Linked DNA regions of Homo sapiens: all the other regions are linked to region 1. Evidence: promoter capture Hi-C in 16 types of primary human blood cells and fetal thymus (Javierre and others, 2016). All regions are on one chromosome and are shown on one strand. Each heading gives the region's core, a stretch centred on a gene start or on the middle of the fragment in contact. The rest is flanking DNA. Distances are from core to core; before and after follow the strand shown. Region 1 holds the start of YWHAH (tyrosine 3-monooxygenase/tryptophan 5-monooxygenase activation protein eta). Region 2 overlaps RTCB (RNA 2',3'-cyclic phosphate and 5'-OH ligase). Region 3 overlaps SFI1 (SFI1 centrin binding protein). Region 4 overlaps SFI1 (SFI1 centrin binding protein).

Region 1 (3,764 bases), core at 656-3,155:
GGAGGAGGGGCTTAAGTGTGACCTGCTGTGGACAGAGGCAGCTTTATCCCACAGAAAATTAAGGTTCAGGGTCCCTTCCAAGGAAATGCATTCGTCAGTCCCATTTTTGTAAAATATGCAAAACTATATTTTAGATTTTCTTTTAAAGGACCCCCTGAATTACATAAAGTTCAGCCTCCAGACCTAGACCGTCCCCCGGTCTGGAAGAAAACCTGCCTCACCACAACAGCATGCTAATAGTGCTCAAGTCAAGATCACCAACAAATCAACATACGGGCAACGGTGTTGCTGGTTTCCAAACACACCCAGTTATGTGTGTAACAAGGACACCAGAGGAAAGGCAACTCTTCAAGCACCTTTCTTACCTGAACAATCCTAAATATTGGCCCCAACTACATATTTCATCTGATATTAACATCAAAAGCCTTCAAATGAGCTTTCCAAATGACTTAAGATTTTAGGGAGCCTTTGTATTGGCAGTTTTTTTTCGGAACTCCCTCCAAAAGGCCAGCAAAGGATACATTTACTATAATCATGGGCAGTAATTCTCAGACTTAAGCCAGCTAAAAATCGCCTGTGAGAGCTGGTTACAATGCAGATGTCTGAGTCTCACCGCCCGAATTTCTGAATGTATAGGTCTAAGGCGGAGTTCAAGGGGATCCTCCCAGGTCTCAGGAGGTTGTACACTGAACATAGGTTGGTGGTCGCAGTTGTTCTACCACTGTGTGACCTTGACGCAGGGAGAGGAAATATTCATTTACAGAAAACGTAAAATAACGTGGAGAGAGAGTGAGATGGTAACCGGAACTCAGAAATGCAGGTGGTGTGTGACCCACGGTATTTTGCTAGGGTGTGGCTGGGCACGACTCATCCACCGGAGAAGCTGCAGAATCGATTTATGAGGGTCTCAGGAATGCAAAGACACACAGATTCGTCTCACCTAGAAGTCACGTTTCATTTTAATCTCCAAGCAGACAGCGCAGCAGCAAACCTGGGGCTGTGGAGTGGGGCCCCACACCCTCCGCCCACTCTCCCGCCCCCGTCCACGCCTAGACTGCAGGAAAGGGGTCTTCGCACACAAAGCCAGACCCCCAGGCGTGGGAAGATGGAACCAGAACAATTCGAACGAGCAGAGCAAAACAGATCGGAATTGCAGACTTCAGGTCGTGGCAGAGAAAACCAGCTGAGACAGGGCGCCACTTACTAGGTGATTCTTTATTCCAAGTTGGGGAACGGAGGAAGACGAGAGGGGGAGCCCCCGGGTCCGGTGAAACGCTCTAGGAGAAATGCGGCTCCTTCGCGTCCCCTAGGGCACCCTCTGCCCCCGGCCGGGTTCCGAACTAAGATGTGGCGACCCCGACCGGCCCGCCCCCCTTCCGGGGCTGCCTTCGCGATCCCGAACTGCACCCTCCCGGATCCCCCACCCTGGGCCCAGCCTCAGGAAGTGGCGGGGCGCCCAGCGGGAGCGGGAAGCGCGGGCTAAGGGCGGGCGGGCGGCCACGCCCAGCCGGGTCGCCGGGTCGCCCATGGCCGGGAGGGGAACGCGCCCGCGGCCATCCCCGTCCCTCCCCAACGCCAGGCCCCCCCCGGCCAGCCGCCCGGGCTCCCGGCGCGCTCACCGCCTTCATAGCGGAGGCCATGTCGTCGTAGCGCTCCGCCTGCTCGGCCAGCCGCGCCCGCTGCAGCAGCTGCTCCCGGTCCCCCATGTCGCTCGCGGCTCGGCCTCGCCTCGCGCCTCACACCGCTGGCTCGCTAGCCCTCCCGCCGGTCAGTCCGCTCCCCGGTCGCTGCGGAGGCCGCCGCCGCGCACGCGCACTGGCTCGCCGGCCGGCCGGAGGCTGCAGGCTGCAGGCTGCAGGCAGCGCCGCCGCTCGCGCCCTCTCGCTGGCTCGCCCCGCGCGCTGTGGCTCGCGCCGCGGACAACGCCGAGGGAGGAGACGCGGCCGCGCTGGGGGATGGGAGGACGGGACGACGCCTGCGCAGTGAGAGTGGCCAGGCCGGGCGGCGGGGAGCGGCGGGAGTGGGAGGGGGGAAGGGCGGGCCGGCCCTAACGGTCTATTTCAAGGTGACGTCACCTACTATAAATAGCCACCGCCGCCGCCGCCGCCCGGCCTGAAAGCCGCGCAGGCGCTCTGCGAGTGCTGCATTTTACCGCCGCAGAGATGGAGGTGGAGAAGGGAAAGCCGGGCAGGAGACTGCGGAGCCGGTGGAGGGGGCGCGGTGATGGCGGCTGCACAGGCAGTGCATTGTCATAGCCCCACCCTGAAACGCGCCACTCCATCCACGTTAGAGATCTGGCTTGAGAAGGGCCCCAAAAGCAAGCAAACATACTGGCGGAGAAGCCGGGAGACCGCGTGCCCCGAGGGGCGGGTCCGCCCAGCCCCGCCCCAGCCGTCCCGCCCGCCCCGAGCCCTGCCTGTCCATGCGTTCTGCTGGGCCACACCTTGTACTGGTCCGGGCAGGATCGAGTCCGACCCTCGGGGACAGCCCCGCTACACAGACACACACAATCGAACCCAACCTGAGACGTAGCCTTGGGCAGGCTGTGCCTTCCACCAGAGGAGGGGACTGGGTGGCCAGGGCGGGACAAGTAATATTCAGGACACATTAGGAGCCAGCCCAGTGCTAGTCCCGTACAAGCATCCTCCTCTTTAATCCTCACTACCCAGCCCACAGTGGGCACAGCTGGTCTCCCCATATTTAAAACGTGGAACCTGAGGAAAAGCGAGGTTAGTGACTTGCTCAGGGTTACGCAGCCTGTAAGTGGTGGGGCCAGGATCTGAGTCCAAACCCAGGCTGAACTTTCTCTTGTGGCAAAGAGCTGGGGTGGCCCAACTGGCTGGTCACTGAGCCCCTCCCAATCCTGGCTGGTATTGGATGCTGAGGGTCCCTTGTGCCAGGCCCTGGACTGGGCTGCCCGACAAGCTAGGAAAATGATGATTAAAACAAGGCCCCCACTTGATTTCAACACGCCAAGGGCAGTGCAGGAGAGGGGGCCTTGGGCTCGCTGAGAATTTTATTGAGCATCTACTGCATGCTCAGCCCACAGGGATAAGCTGGATCTTGAAGGAGAGTCAGGAAAAAGATTAAGGCCTGGGGTACAGCATTGGCAAAGGCTTGGCAGTGACCTGGGAGATGGTGAGAAGAGAGGCCTAAGAATGGGAAGTGAGGTTGGGTAAAACAAGATTACGGAGTCTTTTAAATGCCAGGCCAAAGATTTGAGGCTTCATCCTTAGGTAATTGGGAAGCCATATTTCAGGCCTGGAATCTTGCTCTAGAGAGTAAGACATGTTCGAAGGGAGAAGGGAGGGAACTGGAGACCAGGCCTTTTCTGGACCTGTTTTCCATCTGGAGAATTGGACTTAACTGTTTCAAGGACTTTAGAATAGATATCCACATGCTGAAATGTCAGAGCTGGCAGGACCCTTAGAATCACCCCTGTCTAACCCCTTATCCTGAATAACGGGAAACTGAGGTCTGAGGGAAAGGAGGGGCTGGCCCTAGTTTGCACAGCGAGTGAGCAGAGCTGGGGTCTCCATACCAGGTTTCCTGCCTCCCAGGCCTTCCTCTTCCTGCTATGATGCTGAAACGATCACACTTCTGGGGGCCCATGAAACAGGATTTGAATGTGGGTCTAGGAGGAGGCCACTACCCCAGGCTTCACCATGCTTTGAAGAGTCACTTTTGCTGTTGGAATCGAGGTTAACAAACCAGGCTAATCTTTCCCCTAGTGAATATATTTAAAGAGCATGCTAGATAGTAAT
Region 2 (3,764 bases), core at 848-3,347, 460 kb before region 1:
GGTGCGGTGGCTCACGCCTGCAATCCCAGCACTTTGGGAGGCTGAGATGGGCGGATCATGAGGTCAGGAGATCGAGACCATCCTGGCTAACACGTGAAACTTCGTCTCTACTAAAAATACAAAAAATTAGCTGGGCGTGGTGGCGGGCACCTGTAGTCCCAGCTACTCGGGAGGCTGAGGCAGGAGAATGGCGTGAACCCAGGAGGCAGAGCTTGCAGTGAGCCGAGATCATGCCACTGCACTCCAGCCTGGGTGACAGAGCAAGACTCAGTCTCAAAAAAAAAAAACAAAAGTATATAAGAGCTGTATTGTGTACTGGGAGCTCCTTGAAAGGAAGATCTTATATTCTTTCTATCTCCCCTAGTGCCCAGGACAGTGCTTCATGCATAGTAAATCCTCAGTTAATGTTTGGTGAATTAATAAATGTGACCCTTAAGAAATTATACTGGAAATATTTTCCATCAGTGGGTATTAAATTGTTATTTATGCAATGGTGATGAAGTCATCTTTCTGATAAAAACTACATTCAATTGATTAAGTGTTAAATCTTTGGTTCTCCATTACTGGACAGCTCTTTCACAATATTTGACCTGTGATAAAAATGTTCTGCTCTTTAGTGTTACATAAGTATGTCGTCCATTGCCTTCTGTGTGCTGCCTCTATTGTCAAGCTTTAAAATTATAGATTTTTTAAAAAATTATATAGCTTTCAGAACTGAGCACACAACTACGTAGCTGCATGTTAAATTTTTCTTCTCACTATTTACCTAACTAGAGATTTGTAAGTCACCACTAGAGCACAATAAAATGTAATTTGCTATTGGCTTAAACACAGAATAAACATACTAGGTTAGATGACTACGTTTTATGTTTAGAATTGGACTTTTTGATTCATTTGGTTTTTTTTTTTAATTTTCAAAAAACCATTGATATTTTTGAAGCTTGAGGATTAAGACCTTTGGGCTTTGTGAGAGTATAGTTGGAAGATTTTTCTTTATCACAAAAAGATGCTGAATCTGTTGAATTCTTAAATGTGGTTTTGAGGGTATGAGAATAAACAAAACAATTTGTGAACATTGCAGAATTTTTCTTAAGGTATATTTTCCGATGGGAGCAGCTCGTAGTCTTTGATAGGAAGTTTTCTGTGTGCTTAAGGTAACGTGAAAGTGTTTGGTAAAGAGTAAAGCACAGTAAATATTGCATACAGTGCATTCTGTCCAGTGCCTACACTTGCCGCGCATGTACTCAGACATTGCTTTTCACTTTCCTTGGTACTAGGTTGAAGGTGTTTTCTATGTGAATGATGCTCTGGAGAAATTGATGTTTGAGGAATTAAGGAATGCCTGTCGAGGTGGTGGTAAGTACATTAGAGTTTCACTTGTGTTAGTACGGTAGTGCCTTCCCTGTGGCCTGAAAAAGTGGCAACTCAAATAATTATAATTCTGAAATATTGTCAAGGAGTGATTACAACTTAAAAGTAAGACCAAAAGCACTTACTTATTTGTGATCACATTGTCAGCCAGTTGGCGTTATAGAACGGATTTGAAGCTCCATCTGGAATTTGAAGCTGGGTAGAACTTGTTTCTCAGCTAACCTTGAACAATAATAGCAAGTGACCTACCATTTGTTTTGCACTTACTATATTCCAGGCATGTTACTAGGTGCTTTGCAGAGATTATCTCATGCAATACTTACAGTGACTCTAAAAGGAGCTCCCTTCCATCTTGCATCTCAAACATCCTTCTAGGCTTTGTTGTCTTAGTAGCCCTAATGACTACCTCTTCACGTTATACAGTCTAAAAACATGAATATAATTCATGCTAAAAATCAAGTGTGTTGTCTTTTCTAATACCCAATTTTTGTCTTCAGGTGTTGGTGGCTTCCTGCCAGCCATGAAACAGATTGGCAATGTGGCAGCCCTGCCTGGAATTGTTCATGTGAGTCAGAGTTCAGAACTTTAATCATTTATATTTCTTAAAGTCCATTGAATGGATGAATGGCCATGCCTGATAGTGGTGTCATTTAGACAATGACCTTTGGACAGCCAGACATAACCATGAAGCCAGGCTCAGTGGCTCATGCCACCCGCAACACTTTGAGAGACCAAGATGGAAGGATTGCATGAGCCCAGGAATTCAAGACTAGTCTGGGCAACATGGCAAGACCCTGTCTATACCAAAAAAATTAGTCAGGTGTGATGTCACATGCTTGTTGTCCCAGCTACTTAGAATGCTAAGTGGGAGGATTGCTTGAGCCCAGAGTTCCACACTGCACTGAGCCATGATCACGCCACTGCACTTTTAGCGTGGATGGCAGAGTGAGACCCTGTCCCTAAAAATAAAAAATAAAAGGAAATAACCATGGACCTAAAGAAATAATTGAATCTGGATGGTATTTCAGTTTCTGAATGCATTTGGCTAGAATCTGTAAGTGTTAAGAACCTTCGAAGTAGTTTTTGTGTTTTGTTTCTTATCATGGTAACATTATTCCTGGATCAGTGCACCACCATTGTAAGTTTCATTGTAAGTTTCACTTCACTGTTTCAATGTAAGTTTCATTGTAAGTTTCGCTTGGTTGTAAGTTTCACTTCCTATGCAGAGGATCATTGAAGAAGAAATGGCAAGAAGTTTAAGGGTTAGCACTGAGGGGGAGGAAGAGAGGACAGCATAGCCCCCACCACAGTTTAACATTCATATTCTATCAGAGGTAGATGTTGAAAATGGATCTATTCGGCAGACATTTTTGAGGTCTTCTTTATGCCAGTTACCATGTTGGGCACTTGGTAGAGGGAATGAAATGGTATGGCTTGTGTATATAAGGAAGTTGTTAGTGTCTGGGTATCTCCATATATCCTGTGTTTGACCTGCATTCTTCCTGGGTCAGGGTCCTTTTCTAGGCTCCACATGTAGGAAGTCTACAGTATTTATACCATCAAATGGATTACATTTGGCTGTGATTACTTAAACTAATGACCTATATAAATCAGTTATTTTCCTCTTCTTAACCTGACAAACCAAAGTTTGTCAGTGTCTTAAGATTATTTTTAAAATGTAATAGTACATTAAACTTAGTATGTGTTACTCCTATATCATGTTATTTTGAGGCTTTTCTGTTTTGTATTTCCTTAATTAACATTCAGATCTTATAAAAAAGTTTTTTTCTCACTGTATTTAGCTTTGTGATTAGGAGTTCTTACTATTTCCATGCATATAGAAGATTTTGTGAAAACACAGTCTTGATTTAGGGAAAGCTTCAGCCTGCAACCTGTTTGAGAATCAGTGTCAGGTCCATCAGGGCATCCAGGGTAGCAGGTCAAGACACTTGTATTTCATTTTCTAATTCTTTTTCAGCGATCTATTGGGCTTCCTGATGTCCATTCAGGATATGGGTTTGCTATTGGGAACATGGCAGCCTTTGATATGAATGACCCTGAAGCAGTAGTATCCCCAGGTAAGATCACTGTGGACATCTGCTGTTAAGTGTGTAGCATTGGCCGGGCACGGTGGCTCACGTCTGTAATCCCAGCACTTTGGGAGGCCGAGGCGGGTGGATCATGAGGTCAAGAGATCAAAACCATCTTGGCCAACATGGTGAAACCGTGTCTCTATTAAAAATAGAAAAATTAGCTGGGGGTGGTGACGCGCACCTGTACTCCCAGCTACTTGGGAGGCTGAGGCAGGAGAATCACTTGAACCCGGGAGGCGGAGGTTGCAGTGAGCCGAGTTCGTGCCACTGTACTCCAGCCTGGTGACAGAGCAAGACCCC
Region 3 (3,764 bases), core at 671-3,170, 360 kb after region 1:
TGGTGGTATGCACCTGTAGTCCTAGCTCCTCAGGAGGTTGAGGCAGGATATTCTCTTGAGCCCAGGAGGATGAGGCTACGATGAGCTACAATCACACCATTGCACTCTAGCCTGGATGACAGAGTGAGACCCTGTCTCTAACAATAATTATTATAATAATAAATAAATTGTATAAACAAAATAACTGGCCTGTCCTTTTTTAAAAAAAGGCAGTCATTTTAAAAAGTATACATTATGCTAAGTGAAATAAGCCAGTTGCAAAAGGACAAATACTATATGATTCCACCTATGAGGTCTCTAGAATAATCTAATTTATAGAGACAGAAAGTAGAATGGTGGTTTCCAGGGGCTGAGGAAAGAGGAAATGGGTACAGAGTTTCAATTTTGCAAGATGAAAAAGTTCTAGAGATGAATAGTGATGATGATTGCACAATGTGGATGTACATGTCACTGAACTGTACACTTAAAAATGGTTAAGGTGATAAAGTTTAAGTGATGTATCTTTTACCACAATTAAAAAATATAATAGGCCGGGTGTCGTGGCTCACGCCTGTAATCCCAACACTTTGGGAGGCCGAGGTGGGAGGATCACCAAAGGTCAGGAGTTTGAGACCAGCCTGGCCAACACGGTGAAACCCCATCTCTACTAAAAATACAAAAATTGGCCAGGCGTGATGGTGTGCGTCTGTAGTCCCAGCTACCTGGGAGGCTGAGGCAGGAGAACAGTTTGAACACGGAAGGTGGAGGTTGCAGTGAGCCGAGATCAAGCTACTTACTGCACTCCAGCCTGGGCGAGAGCGAGACCCGGTTTCAAAAAAAAAAAAAAAAAAAAAAAAAAAAAAATATATATATATATATATATATATATATATAAAATGTAATAAAGAAGTGTTGTTGGGGGAAGGAAAGTTCTAGATTAAAAGCTTTAAGAAATATAGCAACAAAATCCATTTCTGCTAAAAATCAATCAGAAAAGAACCAAATGGAGTTAGTGATCCTTAACTGCATTCTGGTTTGTAAAAAGCAGCTACAAATAAGACATTTTTAAGACAACTATGGAAATTTGAATGTTGACTAGATATTAATGTTAGGGAATCACTGTTACTTTTCTTAGGGATGATAATGACATTGTCGTTACATAAGAAAATGTCTCTGAGTGACGCATGCTGAAATATTTAGGTGCAAAGTGTCATGATGTCTATAATTTACTTTGAAATTATTCAGCAAAAAACAATGAGGCAAACATAGCAAATATTAACAATTACTATATCCAGGTAGTGACTATATAGAGGCTTATTATACTTTTTTTTCCTATTTTTCTGTATGTTTAAACATTTTTCATAAAATAGTAACAGGGAAAAAAATCCTACACCAAGAAAGTAGAGACAATATATGTTGGCATCAAGTAAACAAACCATTGTTTTATAATGGACTTACAATGGAAGTGAATAGACTTACAATAGAAACACAACCAAAGCCTCCTATTGGGGCCGGGCATGGTGGCTCATGTCTGTAATCCCAGCACTTTAGGAGGCCGAGGCAGGTGGATTGCTTGAGGCCAGGAGTTTGCGACCAGCCCAACCAACATGGGGAAAAACCCGTCTCTACTAAAAATACAAAAAAATTAGCTGGGCTTGGTGGTGCACACCTGTGATCCCAGCTACTTGGGAGGCTGAGACATGAGAATCGCTTGAACTTGGGAGGTGGAGGTTGCAGTGAGTTGAGATCGCACCACTGCAGCTGCACACCAGCCTGGGCAACAGAGCAAGACCCTGTCTCAAAAAAAAAAAAAGTATATTTGGGCCAGGTGCGGTGGCTCACACCTGTAATCCCAGCACTTTGAGAGGCGAAGGTGGGCAGATCACTTGAGCCCAGGAGTTTGAGATCAGCCTAGGCAACATAGTAGGACCCCATCTACAAAAAATACAAAAATTAGCTGGGTGTGGTGGCTTACAGCTGTAGTCCCAACTACTTGGGAGGCTGAGGCAGGAGGATCACTTGAACCTGCAGTGATCTACTGCACTACAGCCTGGGTGACAGAACAAGACCCTGCCTCTAAATAAGTAAAGAAAAAAAGAAAGTATTTGTATCACTATATCCCCTAGGTCAGGTTTAAAATCCACAGTCCCTGAACTTTGAGTCAACTATCCATTTCTTGGCAAATAGATAAAAAAATGGGATCAAACAAGTTTTTCTATCAGCAGGTATGGATTACCAAAGAAAATGCAAACTAAAAAGGCCGAGCATGGTGACTCACGCCTGTAATCCCAGCACTTTGGGAGGCTGAGGCGGGTGGATCATCTGAAGTCAGGAGTTCGAGACAAGCCTGGCCAACATGGTGAAACCTCGTCTCTACTACAAATACAAAAATTAGGAAGGTGTAGTGGCGCATGCCTGTAATCCCAGCTACTCAAGAGGCTGAGGCAGGAGAATTGCTTGAACCCGGGAGGCGGAGGTTGCAGTGAGCTGAGATCGTGCCACTGTATTACAGTCTGGGCAATAGAGAAAGACTGTCTCAAAAAAAAAAAAAAAAAAAAGAAAAGAAAAGAAAGAAAGAAAATGCAAACTAAGGTTTTACAGTTGACAGTCTGGACAAATCTTGAAGCACAAAAAGTTTTTTTAAAAAGAGTTCTGCTTAATTTGGCAAGACTGAAAAAAAGAGCGAGAGAGAATGGCCTTCAGAAGAGGTCCCTTGATACAGAAGACAACCCTCACCGTGACACCATGCTGCTGGTGAGCAAGATTCCTTCTTATTTGCTGGAGATGAGCGTGGGTCACATTGTCTTTTAGGGCTCTAAAGCAAAAATACTGTGCAAAGAAAGGACACAACTGATTACAAGGACTGGGATCAGTAGAGTCTGTAAACTAAGAGTAGAGGAAGGCAAACAGTGCCTCAAATCAGCGGGGAGAAGCTTGGTCACAGCTTCTTGTAGCTGTTCCATCTCCCTGAGTGTTTCTCTGCTTTGAGATTCAACTGGGAGCCTAACACAAGCCAGCCTGCACAGCAGGCACTTAATAAATATTTGCTGAACCCTCCCTGCTGTCCATCTATACTGCACAAGAACAAACACACCCACACCAGGAAAGAACCCCATGACCCACATGACAATTCTACAGACCAAGGTAAACATCAACTGTTGCCTCTCAGGAGAAGACAGACTTTTTGTCTGTGGTGGTTTTTGTTTTTTTACCATGTGGGCTCAGTGCATACATTTGTATGATTATAAATGCAGTGCTGCTAAAATGGAAGAAGGAATCTTTAGTGAAAGGAAGGGTTGGAGTTGGGCCAGGATGGACCTGGATCCAGCTCCATCAATAATGCCTAAAAGGCCAGGTGCAGTGGCTCACACCTGTAATCCCAACACTTTAGGATGCTGAGGCAGGAGGACTGCTTGAGCACAGGAGTTCAAGACCAGCCTGGCCAACAGAAGGAGACTCCGTCTGTATAAAAAAACTAAAAAATTAGGCCGGGCGTGGTGGCTCACGCCTGTAATCCCAGCACTTTGGGAGGCCGAGGCGGGCGGATCACGAGGTCAGGAGATCGAGACCATCTTGGCTAACATGGTGAAACCCCGTCTCTATTAAACATACAAAAAATTAGCTGGGTGTGGTGGCAGGCACCTGTAGTCCCAGCTACTCGGGAGGCTGAGGCAGGAGAATGGCGTGAACCCCGGAGGCAGAGCTTGCAGTGAGCCAAGATAGCACCACTGCACTCCAGGCTGGGTGACAGAGCGAGACTCTGTCTCAAAAAAAAAAAAAATCTA
Region 4 (3,764 bases), core at 776-3,275, 340 kb after region 1:
CTACCGTGGGCTGGGGTCTGAGTTGGGGGTGGCTTCCTGCTTTGCCTCCATTTTATACATCATCTGTGTGAGTGTAAATTAACCTCTCTGGCCTCATCTATAAATACGTGCTTCTTAGGGGTTCTGTGATGATTTGATGAGGTAAGTGCTTGATTTGCGGTAAAAGCTCAATTAATGTGAGTTTAAACATGTTTTACACTCAGTAGGACGTAGGACTCCTGTAAATGGTTAGATCAGGAATTTTAGATGCAGTAAGTTCAAATAAGAACAGCCTAGGATCTGAAAGAACACAAAATTTTGAGCCAAATCAGCTCATAAAACTGAGTTAACACTTTCTATGCTGCCTGTTCTCCTCCTTCAGCTCAGAGGTAGGTGGTGTGGCCCATATGTTGCCTGTGAGTCCTGCTGACACACAGCCCACCTGTCCAAAAGTCATACACGGGTGGCACCTCGCACCAAAGCCTTACCTCCCTCCACTGGCTCCAGGCCCAACGCAGGAGCTGGGCCATGTGGAATTCTGCTGCCCGCACCCTGCCCGTCCTCCTGTGGGGAGATGGCAGAGCTCAGTGCTGCAGCCCCCACCCAGTGAGGGCACCCTCTATGGGTTCCTCCTCATAGTCCATAGCCCTACCTGGTTAAGTTTTTGGGGGAGCCAAGACCCTCTCTGAAGAGCTGCCAAAGAACTTGCAGTCTCAGAAAAAAGCACCTATGATCAAATTTTGGCCTACAACTTCCCAGGGCTTCAGGTGCCATTGAAGCTCACATGTGCAGGTGTGAAGCCCCCAACTGAGAAACTGGTTAAACATGGTCAGTGTGCGACAGGGAGTGAGATCCTCAGAACACACAGTGGACACTGAAAGGCCCCAAAGCAGGACAGTCTCTATAGTGACTGGGCTGCCTCCCCTCCTCTCTCTTAACTACGTGGTGTGGTTAAAAACTGCCACAACCCACCCACTGGCCACAGCTGCTGTCCCTATCCCTTATCTGCAGCAGTCAGCTATCACAATATGGGCCCATCAGTTTATTCCCTGGCTATGGTCACTTTTGTTCGTTTGAGGCAGAGTCTCGCTCTGTTGCACAGGCTGGAGTGTAGCGGTGCCATCTCGGTTCACTGCAACCTTCACTTCCCGGGTTCATGCCAATTTCCGTGCTTCACTCTCCTGAGTAACTGGGATTACATGCTTGCGCCACCACGCCTGGCTAATTTTTGTATTATTAATAGAGAGGGTTTTCTCCATGTTGGTCAGGCTGGTCTCGAACTCCTGACCTCTGGTGATCTGCCCGCCTCAGCCTCCCAAAGTGCTGGGATTACAGGCGTGAGCCACTGTGCCCGGCCAACCTAGTTTTACTTAAGACTCTTTTAGGTTGAACTTCCAGAACTTACAACCAGAGTCTGGGGTAATGCAGTCCTCCAGACAGGCACTTGGAGCTCATGGTGCTGCTAGAACAAGCAAAGCTGGCCTGTGATGGAAAGGCTTGTAAGGCAGAACTGGCCACTCACTCTGTTCTGAGCCCTTGGGCACTTTCCCTCCAGAGGCAGAAAGCTTTCTTGAGCCGCCCGTGGCGGTGGTGGGCACAGGCCACTGTTTGCCACTCCTGCTCCTGGTGACGTGCTGCTGCCTGCTGGTGCCACATGAACCAAGACCTATACAGAAGCTGTCGCTCTGCGTGAAGGATGGCCTGAGGCAGGACAGGAAGGAGAGAACAGAATAAATCAAGTAGGAGAGAGGCACAGAAGCCAGGAAAGAATTTACAGGCCACAAATAATGACTAAGGCAAAAGGAATGGATGTCAGGACGTGGTCCAGCCCAGAAGCTGTCTGTAGGCTCCACTGAGAAAGGACAGATGCCCCAGAGCCTGCCCTGCCTCAACAGTCACAGGCAGGGGCCCTCCAGTGAGGTCCGAGCAACTTCCTGAGGAGGGGAGGCCGTGAGTGCAATGGCTTGAATCAGATCCTGCCCCTCCACACATCTCCTCAGGGACAGCCATTTACCATTCTCTCTGCCAGGCGGTTTTCTCGATGCTGAAACATCTTCTGCCTCCAGAGAGAAAATACTTGCTTCTCTAATGTCTCCCTAAAAAACAAGGAAGAATGTAAAGCACTTAAAACAAACATAAAAATTAACCCAAACAGAACTAGAAGTTCCAAATAATTGGATTTTTCCTTTTATACCATGCTATCGTATAAGAGGTGAATTAAGTGGCTGGGCACAGTGGCCCATGTCTGCAATCCTAATACTTTGGGAGGCCAAGGCAGGAGGATCGCTGGAGGCCAAGACCAGCCTGGGCAACATAGCAAAACTCCATCTCTACAAAAAAATTTTAAAATTGCTGGGTGTGATGGTGTGTGCCTGTAGTACCAACTACCTGGGAGGCTGAGGTGGGGGGATCGCCTGAGCCCAGGAGTTTGAGGCTGTGGTGAACTATGATCACGCCACTCCACTCCAGCCTGGGCAACAGAGTGAGACCCCGTCTCTGAAAAAAATAAAAGAGGTGAATAAGCTTAGATGAGGGAGAAAGCAACACAAAGAGAAAGGGAAGGAAAGCAGACAGCCAAAAAACCATAAACTGTTAAAAAGGCCAACATTTTCCAGGTTGTTTCTGGTATCAGCCAAGCCTTCACACCGTACGAAAAAGACTCAGACCCTGAGACCCCAGGTCTTCATTAATTCTATATTGACTTAACAGCACTGATAAAGGATTGTTCATGAGAGCCCTTTCCAGTGCATGCTGACCAACGCTTTGGGGACCTGTTGAAAAACAAGGGGCAGACCCCTAAGGCTGACTGAGCAAGTCTGAGGGGGGGTCCCAGGAAATAGTATTTTAAACAAGTATTTCAGGTGAATTAGAAAAGTAGAAAGGTTGGCCGGGCATAGTGGCTCACGCCTGTAATCCCAGCACTTTGGGAGGCCGAGGTGGGCGGATCATGAGGTCAGGAGATCGAGACCATCCTGCCTAACACGGTGAAACCCCATCTCTACTAAAAATATAAAAAATTAGCTGGGCCTGGTGGTGGGCGCCTGTAGTCCCAGCTACTTGGGAGGCTGAGGCAGGAGAATGACATGAACCCGGGAGGCGGAGCTTGCAGTGAGCCGAGATCGTGCCACTGCACTCCAGCCTGGGCCACAGAGGTTGCAAAAAAAAAAAAAAAAAAAAAAGTAAAGAAAAGTAAAAAGGTTTGGGAACCACTGTTTTGTCATCTCTGCCTAGGCCTACAGATCACCATTAACAACATCAAATCCTGCAGCAGCAGTGCTGGGACAATTGACCAACAGCCACTAGGGGCTACATGTTGGTGAAGCCACAGGATCCATGTTCAGCACTGGGGGATCTTGCTCCCCTGACATTTAACACGCAAGACACATCACTTAAAGCAAAGATTCCACTTCTAGTCAGAACACAGTCACTGGTCCTGGATCTGCCCTCTGGCCATATATGACAAAACTAGACAAAATACATATGGCAACTGTCTTCAGGCGCTGGACAGTAAGTGTAGATTCTGATGCTGAAAAGATAGGACACGGGCGAGGTGAGCCCCTAGGCCGCCCAGACTTTCTGCCTGGGGGCACCTTCTAAACAGTGAGGGGAAGGGAGGCTAAGCAGAGCCTCCCTCAGTCTCAGTGAGCTGAGGAGGCAAAGACTGGAGTTCATGACTGCCAGAGGGGCTGGAATTTGGGGTCAGGGTACTAGAAAGGAGACAGCTGAACAGAGGGAAATACCCAAAATTTTACTGAGGTTGTCCCAGGTCCTCAGATGAGGGCCTG

The links. Contacts are between HindIII fragments. The CHiCAGO score rates a contact against its expected background, and 5 or more counts as called.
Region 2: a contact is called between a fragment that was not itself captured here and the fragment with the promoter of YWHAH in region 1, in 2 of 17 cell types (monocytes and total B cells). The highest score is 5.6, in monocytes.
Region 3: a fragment that was not itself captured here is called in contact with the fragment with the promoter of YWHAH in region 1 in 1 of 17 cell types (endothelial precursors); the score reaches 7.8 in endothelial precursors.
Region 4: a contact is called between a fragment that was not itself captured here and the fragment with the promoter of YWHAH in region 1, in 1 of 17 cell types (endothelial precursors). The highest score is 5.0, in endothelial precursors.

The regions. Positions count from the first base shown.
Region 1 is chr22:31,942,676-31,946,439 of GRCh38, reverse strand. It overlaps YWHAH (tyrosine 3-monooxygenase/tryptophan 5-monooxygenase activation protein eta), which reads right to left and starts at 1,905. Exons shown (of 2, transcript NM_003405.4): 1 at 1,620-1,905. The coding sequence starts at 1,706. It overlaps YWHAH-AS1 (YWHAH antisense RNA 1), which reads left to right and starts at 1,074. Exons shown (of 3, transcript NR_171018.1): 1 at 1,074-1,207. LOC124900477 (a long non-coding RNA gene) reads right to left here and starts at 1,606. Exons shown (of 3, transcript XR_007068065.1): 1 at 1,205-1,606; 2 at 762-940. RefSeq lists enhancers at 935-984, 1,728-2,585, 2,586-3,443 and silencers at 1,305-1,644, 1,715-1,934, 1,945-2,034, 2,315-2,464. The HindIII fragment of the contact is 4,478 bases long and covers 1-3,764 here.
Region 2 is chr22:32,406,347-32,410,110 of GRCh38, reverse strand. It overlaps RTCB (RNA 2',3'-cyclic phosphate and 5'-OH ligase), which reads left to right. Exons shown (of 12, transcript NM_014306.5): 2 at 1,278-1,356; 3 at 1,869-1,936; 4 at 3,350-3,449. Among named protein-coding and RNA genes, the nearest start is that of RTCB, 4.0 kb to the left of the region's middle. The HindIII fragment of the contact is 2,309 bases long and covers 943-3,251 here.
Region 3 is chr22:31,579,316-31,583,079 of GRCh38, reverse strand. SFI1 (SFI1 centrin binding protein) reads right to left here. Exons shown (of 33, transcript NM_001007467.3): 12 at 2,716-2,808. Among named protein-coding and RNA genes, the nearest start is that of MIR7109, 40 kb to the left of the region's middle. RefSeq lists an enhancer at 469-688 and a silencer at 2,903-3,197. The HindIII fragment of the contact is 1,989 bases long and covers 926-2,914 here.
Region 4 is chr22:31,600,523-31,604,286 of GRCh38, reverse strand. SFI1 (SFI1 centrin binding protein) reads right to left here. Exons shown (of 33, transcript NM_001007467.3): 16 at 1,994-2,075; 17 at 1,502-1,680; 18 at 468-543. Among named protein-coding and RNA genes, the nearest start is that of MIR7109, 19 kb to the left of the region's middle. The HindIII fragment of the contact is 958 bases long and covers 1,547-2,504 here.